Regions from separate parts of the Homo sapiens genome. Here regions 1 and 3 are each linked to region 2. The links are contacts of gene promoters, found by promoter capture Hi-C in blood cells and fetal thymus (Javierre and others, 2016). All regions are on one chromosome and are shown on one strand. The core of a region is centred on a gene start or on the middle of the fragment in contact, and the rest is flanking DNA. Distances in the headings are between cores, read along the strand shown. Region 1 overlaps TMEM123 (transmembrane protein 123). Region 2 holds the start of MMP7 (matrix metallopeptidase 7). Region 3 overlaps MMP20 (matrix metallopeptidase 20).

The links. The method cuts DNA at HindIII sites, captures the fragments that hold promoters and counts their contacts. A CHiCAGO score of 5 or more calls a contact.
Region 1: a fragment that was not itself captured here is called in contact with the fragment with the promoter of MMP7 in region 2 in 2 of 17 cell types (M1 macrophages and total B cells); the score reaches 5.7 in M1 macrophages.
Region 3: a contact is called between a fragment that was not itself captured here and the fragment with the promoter of MMP7 in region 2, in 8 of 17 cell types (M0 macrophages, M1 macrophages, naive B cells and 5 more). The highest score is 13.7, in M0 macrophages.

What each region holds. Positions count from the first base shown.
Region 1 is chr11:102,431,115-102,433,814 of GRCh38, reverse strand. All of the region lies in intron 2 of TMEM123 (transmembrane protein 123), which reads left to right. Among named protein-coding and RNA genes, the nearest start is that of TMEM123, 20 kb to the left of the region's middle. The HindIII fragment of the contact is 4,066 bases long and covers 1-2,700 here.
Region 2 is chr11:102,529,486-102,532,185 of GRCh38, reverse strand. MMP7 (matrix metallopeptidase 7) reads left to right here and starts at 1,439. Exons shown (of 6, transcript NM_002423.5): 1 at 1,439-1,593. The coding sequence starts at 1,486. The HindIII fragment of the contact is 6,591 bases long and covers 1-1,854 here.
Region 3 is chr11:102,595,737-102,598,436 of GRCh38, reverse strand. The region is part of intron 6 of MMP20 (matrix metallopeptidase 20); the gene reads left to right. Among named protein-coding and RNA genes, the nearest start is that of MMP20, 28 kb to the left of the region's middle. The HindIII fragment of the contact is 6,692 bases long and covers 1-2,700 here.

The DNA of each region.
Region 1 (2,700 bases), core at 23-2,522, 98 kb after region 2:
ATCTCATGAAAAACTGTCACGAGAACAGCGTAGGGGAAACCACCCCTATGATTCAGTTACCTCCCACCAGCTCGCTGCCATGACACTTGGGGATTATGGAGATTACAATTCAAGATGAAATTTGAGTGGGGACATAGCCAAACCATATAATTTTACCACTGGCCCCTCCCAAATCTCATGCCCTCAGACTTGATGCCTTCCCAACAGTCTTCCAAAGTCTTAACTCATTCCAGCATTAACCCAAAAGTCCAAAATCTCAACTGAGATAAGGCAAGTCCCTTCCACCTATGAGCCTGTAAAATCAAAAGCAAGTTAGTTACTTCCTAGATACAATGTGAGTACAGGCATTGGGTAAATACACCTGTTCCAAATGGGATAAATTGGCCAGAACAAAGGAGCTGCAGGCCCCATGCAAGTCTGAAATCCAGTAGGGCAGTCATTAAACCTTAAAGTTCCAAAATGATTTCCTATGACTCTGTCTCATATCCAGATCGTGCTGATGCAAGAGGTGGGCTCCCATGTCCTTGAGCAGCTCCACCCCTGTGGCTTTGCAGAGTACAGCCCCCTTCCCAGATGCTGTCACTAGCTGGCGTTGAGTGTCTGTGGCTTTTCCAGACACAGTGCAAGCTGTTGATGGGTCTACCATTCTGGGGGCTGGAGGACAGTGGCCCTCTTCTCACAGCTCCACTAGGCAGTGCCCCAGTGGGGACCCTGTGTGAGGGCTCCAGCCCCACATTTCCCTTCTGCACTGCCCTAGCAGAGTTTCTCCATGAGGCCTCCACACCTGCAGCAAACTTCTGCCTGGACTTCCAGGCATTTCCATACATTCTCTGAAATCCAGTCAGAGGTTCCCAAACCTCAATTCTTGACTTCTGTGCACCCACAGGCTCAACACTACATGGAAACCACCAAGGCCTGGGGCTTGCACCCTCTGAAGCAATGGCCTGAGCTGTACTTTGACCCCTTTTAGCCATGGCTGGAGCTGAAGCAGCTGAGACGCAGGGCACTATGTCCCCAGGCTGCATAGAGCAGGGGGCCCCTGGGCCTGGCCCAGGAAACCATTTTTCCCTCCTAGGCCTCCAGGCCTGTGATGGGAGGGGCTGCTGTGAAGGTATCTGACATGCCCTGGAGACATTTTCCCCATTGTCTTTTGGTGGTTAACATTTGGCTCCTTGTTACTTATGCAAATTCCTGCAGCCGGCTTGAATTTCTCCTCAGAGAATGGGTTTTCTTTTCTGTCACATCATCAGGCTACATATTTTCCAAACTCTTACGCTCTGCTACCTCTTGAATGCTTTGCTGCTTAGAAATTTCTTCTGCCAGGTACCCTAAATCGTGTCTCTCGAGTTCTAGTTCCACAGATCTCTAGGGCAGGGGCAAAATGCCACCAATCTCTTTGCTAAAGCATAGCAAGAGTGACCTTTACTCCAGTTCTCAACAGGTTCCTCAAATCTGCATCTGAGACCACCTCAGCCTGGACTTCATTGTCCATATCACTATCAGCATTTTGGTCAAAGCCGTTCAACAAGTCTCTAGGAAGTTCCAAACTTTCCCACATCTTTTTGTCTTCTGAGCCCTCCAAGTCTCTAGGAAGTTCCAAACTTTCCCACATTTCCCTGTCTTCTTCTAAGTCCTCCAAACTGTTTAAACCTCTGCCTGTTAACCAGTGCCAAAGTCGCTTCCACATTTTCAGCTATCCTTAGAGTAGCACCCCACTCCCAGTACCAATGTACTAGATTAATCTGTTCTTACACTGCTTTGAAGAAATACCCAAGATGGATTAATTTATAAAGAAAAGAGGTTTAATTGACTCAGTTCCACATGGCTAGGGAAGGCTTCAGGAAACTCACAATCATGGCAGAAGGCGCCTCTTCACAGGGTGGCAGGAGAGAGAAAGTGCCAGCAGGGAGATGCCAGACGCTTAAAAAACCATCAGATCTCCTGAGAACTCACTCACTATCATGGGAACAGCATGGGGGAAACTGCCCCCATGATTCAGTTACCTACCACCGGGTCACTGCCATGACACATGGGGATTACAATTCAAGATGAGATTTGGGTGGGGACACAGCCAGCCCATATCACCAAGTTGTAGAATCAACCTAACTGTTTATCAGCAGATGAATGGATAAAGCACATGTGATACATATACACACAATGGAATACTATTCAGCTTTAAAAAAGCAAATGTGCAAATTCTGTCATTTGAGACAACATGGATGGAACTGCAGAGAGTAGAATGGTGGTTCCCAGAAGCTGCAGGGTGGGGAAAAAGGGGAGATGATGGTTAAAGGATACAGAGCCTCAGAGAAGAGGAAAACTTTCTTTTTTCTAGTTCTATTGCACAGCATAGTGAATATAGTTTATCGTGTATGGTACCTTCCAAAATCGCTGAGTAAAATTTCAATGTTCTCACCACAAAAATAAGTATTTGAGGTGATGGATATGTTAATTAGCATGATTAAATTATTCTACATGTATTCATAAATCATAACATCACTTTATACCTATAAATTTATACAGCTGTAATTTGTCAGTTTACAAAGATAAGTATGTGAGGTAATGCCTATATTTATTTAGCGATTCCACATTGTGTACATATATCAAAATATCATGTTGTACACCATAAATACAGTTTTTTTTTAAGTATCCCACCGACTATTTTTAGTTTTTCTTTTTTAATCCAATGACATAAGCACA
Region 2 (2,700 bases), core at 190-2,689:
TTCAAGTAAAGTTCATAAATATTCATTATTCTACAAATATTTATGGTGCACCTTATCACATGTCAAACTCTGACTAAGGATACCAATTACTCTAGTTAAACTGTGACCGTACAGAATCAAGACATCTCTGTAAAGAGAGCAAATTTAATTAACTGATCTGAAAATTTTACCTTTGCTGGCTCACAGTGCTCAATTACCATGTAATTGAAGTGATATGTGATTAATTAAATTTTTTAGCTCCAGCATATTTGGAGTGTTTCCCATGATGTATTAGAGTCAAAAGCCATGGTGTTCTCCCAAGTAATGTATAATATAATAAAAGAGACAGACCTATTACAAAATGAATAGGCAGTGCAGTGGGATAGAAAAAGCACTGAGCTACTATCTGTGTGAGCTGGGAGAAGTATAATAAGTTAAATTATCATCTTGGCCTCACTTTCATTTTTGGTAAGAATGGAGTCATTGGGCTAGAATCTGTAGGTAATGGATTCTTACTGCTATACGTAGAATAACCATTTTGTGTACTAAGGACCAATGCAGCCCTACCTGTAGCTGGGCAGCAGCCAGAGTCAGAGTGATTGGAAGAAAAAAATTGGATCTCCAAGTTGAAGGTCTAGCCTTGGAAGAATCTGTTACTATAAAATGAGAAGCAGAATAAGTAAGCCAGATGAAGAGTTAAACCCGTGCTTGTAGATTTTTGTTGGCTTGGTATTTTTTTGTGTTTAATTCAAGAAGAATTAGAGGCAGTGTTCCCCATTAAGAAAAGACATAAACTGATTAAAAGGAGACCCAAAGAAGGGAATTATCACTGCTCTGCTAAGGGACGTGGAAGGTGAGGGGACACAGCACAGTTGTATATAGAGTGGCCACTAATCCAGCCACACAGCAGCATTTCCATCTGCCTCCTGCCATCTTTCCCCTGTATGGAGAACCACAGGATTTTGGTGATGTTCTATTTCTTGACTTTGGTGACGGTTACAGTATTTGCTTAATTATTATTTCATTATTTACATGTTTTGTGCACTTTTCCAAACCTTTTAATTGTTAAGAATATATGGTACCATGTATTTAAGAATACATGGTACCATATAATAAGAATATATATTTAAGAATATATATTATTCTTTAAGAATATATGGTACCATAATGTCCTGAATGATACCTATGAGAGCAGTCATTTGACTTTGGCAAAAAAATGAGGTTTCTCATGGAGTCAATTTATGCAGCAGACAGAAAAAAAAATCCTTTGAAAGACAAATACATTGTGTGCTTCCTGCCAATAACGATGTAATACTTCCTCGTTTTAGTTAATGAAAAATAACACATACTTTCAAAGTTCTGTAGACTCTAAAAAGAAAGAAAACACTCAAATGAGTCACCTATTTCCACATTCGAGGCTGAGAAGCTATATAAATTTCTGCAGTCACTAGCAGAAAACACCAAATCAACCATAGGTCCAAGAACAATTGTCTCTGGACGGCAGCTATGCGACTCACCGTGCTGTGTGCTGTGTGCCTGCTGCCTGGCAGCCTGGCCCTGCCGCTGCCTCAGGAGGCGGGAGGCATGAGTGAGCTACAGTGGGAACAGGCTCAGGTATGTCACAGCCCACTTACTTAGGGTTCCATTCTTTTGCCATCTGCATTAAGAAATGTGTTTTTCAATTATTTCCCTTCCCATGTTAGCATTGCAGTGGAATTTTCTTTGGGGTGGTTCTTCGGATTATAAAAGCAATATATGTTTTCATCAAGTAGCCATTAAAAGCAGGTTTCAGAATCTGCTCAAATCGGGCTTGAGTTCCAACCCTCCACTCACTATGTAGATAGACTCAGGAAGGTCATCAAACTTCTCTAAGCTTCAGGTTTCCAATTTGGAAGTTGGAGATAAGAATGGTATCAACCAAATGAGGGTGTTGTGAAGCATTCAACACAATACCTGAAACATTGTTTAAATTAAGTTCTTATTTTTATTTATTATAACTTGAGATTCTTTTTCTATAGTATACAGAATATTGCCTCTTAAGATACAACCTGTAAATATACTGTTTGTGTATTTACAATACTGTTTGTAATGGAGATATCTGAAGTCAGAAAACATGGGTAGAAATTACAACTCTCCAACAAGTCAATGACAATAGACAAGGCATTAACATCTGACTTTGTTTTCTCATGTGTCCAGTAGAAAAAATAATATTATGTGTTTTATACCTCATGGGGTATTCTAGTAAGTAAATGAGGTGATAACAAAACCAACTAGCATGTATGTAACAATTGTAGATTATAAAGTACTTATATAGACATTGTGTCATTTAATCCTTAGTTCTATAAAAAGAGGAAACCAAAGTTAAACTGATTAGTGTACTTATTAGTGGTAGAGATAGAAATCAAGGACAAGTGCTTCTGGTTCAAAAATCATGTTCCTTGCAATATGCTTCTTAATAAGCAGTCTAATAAATATAAGCAGTCTACTAATTATTATTTGGTTAACTAATGGGATGATTACTTATAACTATTATTTGTAAATTTAGGCCTTAAGCATAAGAAAAGTCAATTTTTAATTCACATTAACTTAGACTTTTAAAAAGTTCCAGTTATAATAAGTTAGATTGAACCACATAAAGTTACTAGTATTTAACTTTTAAAATCTCCAAAACAGTAGTTTTATATGGTTCCACCTAATGAATTCTCCAGAAAGAGTACTCTG
Region 3 (2,700 bases), core at 108-2,607, 66 kb before region 2:
AGCTAAATATCTAATCAGCAGATCTAAAATATCAATAAACTCCATTGTTTTGCCTTCCTTATCAAAGATCAAATTATAGACTAGTGATATAATCTGTTTATTTTCATTCCAATACATCCTGCAGCTGTTCTTTTCCAAGAGGCTTATAGATTTTTTTGTTTATATTTTAAATCCATTCACAGATGTATAAGGAAGTTACTTGCTATCATTGTTTTTGTGAGTTTTACTTCACTTATTACTACAATCTATAGGTCTAAGGATGCAAATTGTCTGAGTATGTTACTGTTTTATTGCCACAAGACATCATTTTTTTCATTAGTTTACTGAAATTTTTCATGACTACAGATTCTTTTTGAAATTTGTGATAATTTGGCCAGGCATGGTGTCTACGCCTGTAATCTCAGCACTTTGGGAGGTGGAGGCAGGCAGATCACCTGAGGTCGGGAGTTCGAGACCAGCCTGACCAACATGGAGAAACCCCACCTCTACTAAAAATACAAAATTAGCCGGGAGTGGTGTCACATGCCTGTAATCCCAGCTACTCGGGAGGCTGAGGCAGGAGAATTGCTTGAACCCAGGAGGCGGAAGTTGCCATGAACTTAGATCACGCCATTGCACTCCAGCCTGGGCAACAAGAGTGAAACTCCATCTCAAAAAAAAGAAAAGAAAAGAAATTTGTCATAATTTATATAAGTGATGGATAGCATTTATTTCTATCCTATGTGCACATTATATACATTACACTACATCATAGTGGTGTTTAAAGCAGGGTTTCTTAACATTGACACTACTGGTATCTTGAGCCAGATAAGTCTTAGTTGTGTTGAGCTGTCTTTTGCATTAGGATGTTTAGTGGCATCCCTGGCTGTACTCATTAGACTCCAATAGCACTGCTCATCCCCACCTGTGACAACCAAAATTGTCACCAGATATTGCCTAACGTCCCCCAGGGTGCAAAATCACACTTGATTTACAATGACTACTTCAATTTAGTCCTCACGATATCCTACATCAATATTTCCTTAGTAAGGAATTTGAGAGTCTACCACTTGTGAAAAGTTTCAAGAGTACAGTTTTCCTTTGCCTGAGCTCGTAACTACTACCCTTTACTACTTCTCATGTTGAGTCATTCAAGATATCACTGTCCCAAAACTTCAACTAAAAAGTAGGACTTAGCTTTGCCTAGAGTTGCTTGTTGATTTTTAAGTGAGAAATGCAAGAAAATGCATCTGGCTTTAGAGTGATCAAAGAGAAAGCAGCTGGAAGTCTACTACACCTCATCAGAGACATCATTCAGACAGAGCCTAGTTTTGGGAAGACATATCTGCTCCTCTACCTCCCCACTTTCCCCACATGGCCTCATCATTATAATATTCTTAAATGCACACTTTGTGTCTTAGCACAGCAACTTATAAGAGAAAACATTTCAGAGCTATGTATTGAATTGCATTAATTGGAACACACTTGCTCTTCAGGTTTCATCCCAGGTTCCCAATTAATCCAAGAAGTAGTTGCGGGATTCTGGATACCCAAAACTGTATTCATTACGAGGTGGTGGAGAGAAAAGGGAAAAGGGAAGCAGTCCCTCTGGCCTTCAGAAAAGCCCAGGTCTGATTGGACAAAGGGTCAAAGTACAAACAAAGAAAAAACCAGAGGTCACGAGACTGAGCATGAGCAAGTAGGTGAGATCGGACATGTGACTAACCTCAAGGCAGCTAGAGCCTGAGCTGGGCCGTCTCTGCCCCTCACCACCAGTGACCTTTGGGCCAGCAGCCCTTCTGGATCTCAGTTTTTCATCAGTTAAAACATACGCTTTAGATAAGGCTGTGATGTTTGGGGCTTGTGTATTGTCTATGGAGGGTGCCCAATTACCAGGTAATTAAGGCCTAAGCAAATAATACCTTTTCAAACTAACAGTATCTATCCATATGGCACCTTACAGTTTATAATACACTTTCATATTCATTATCTCATTTTATCCTTATAATGGTCTCATGATATTGGCCAGGAAATTATTTTTCCCATGTAAGCTGATTAAACTGAGGCTTGGAGAGGCTGGTCAGCAGTGGAGTTAAAACTCTAGCCCACATCTTCTCAAACACAATGTGTTTTTCCTTCTGCACCATGATGCCTCTTACGAAACATGAGGAAATATTTATCTTTTCCCAATACATTCCTTTTTTGGATTTTATCATCAGCTTAAGTTGCCTCATTAGGGATACCTTTATTAAGCCCCTAAATGCAATGGGATATACTTCTTGTGTGTTCTCAAAGTATCCTGAACTTAACTCTTCGTAGCACCAATCACTCTGATCGTTACTAATCAGTCTCTACTATTAGATTGTAAACATATTGAGGGCAGGGCCGACATCTTCTTCAGTGTTTCATCCTTGATGTCCACCACAGTGCCTGATGATAGGTGCTCCATAAATATTTGTTAGATTAACTGAATAGGAAAACTCTACATAAAATTTGGAGAATTCCTAAATTAGCCACTAGGAAAGTTCAATGTCAAAATTTTATTACAGTTTCCCAGTCCCCAAATAATCCTGTGAAGTAATTCTGGGCTCCTAAGAAGACAAGTAAATTATTCGTGTTTTATAAAAAATGATTTTCATCTTCAAACTATAAAATAGAGCACATTACATTGTCAGTTTCAATCCAGTACCCTCATGGGTATACTGCCACAATTTTATGACT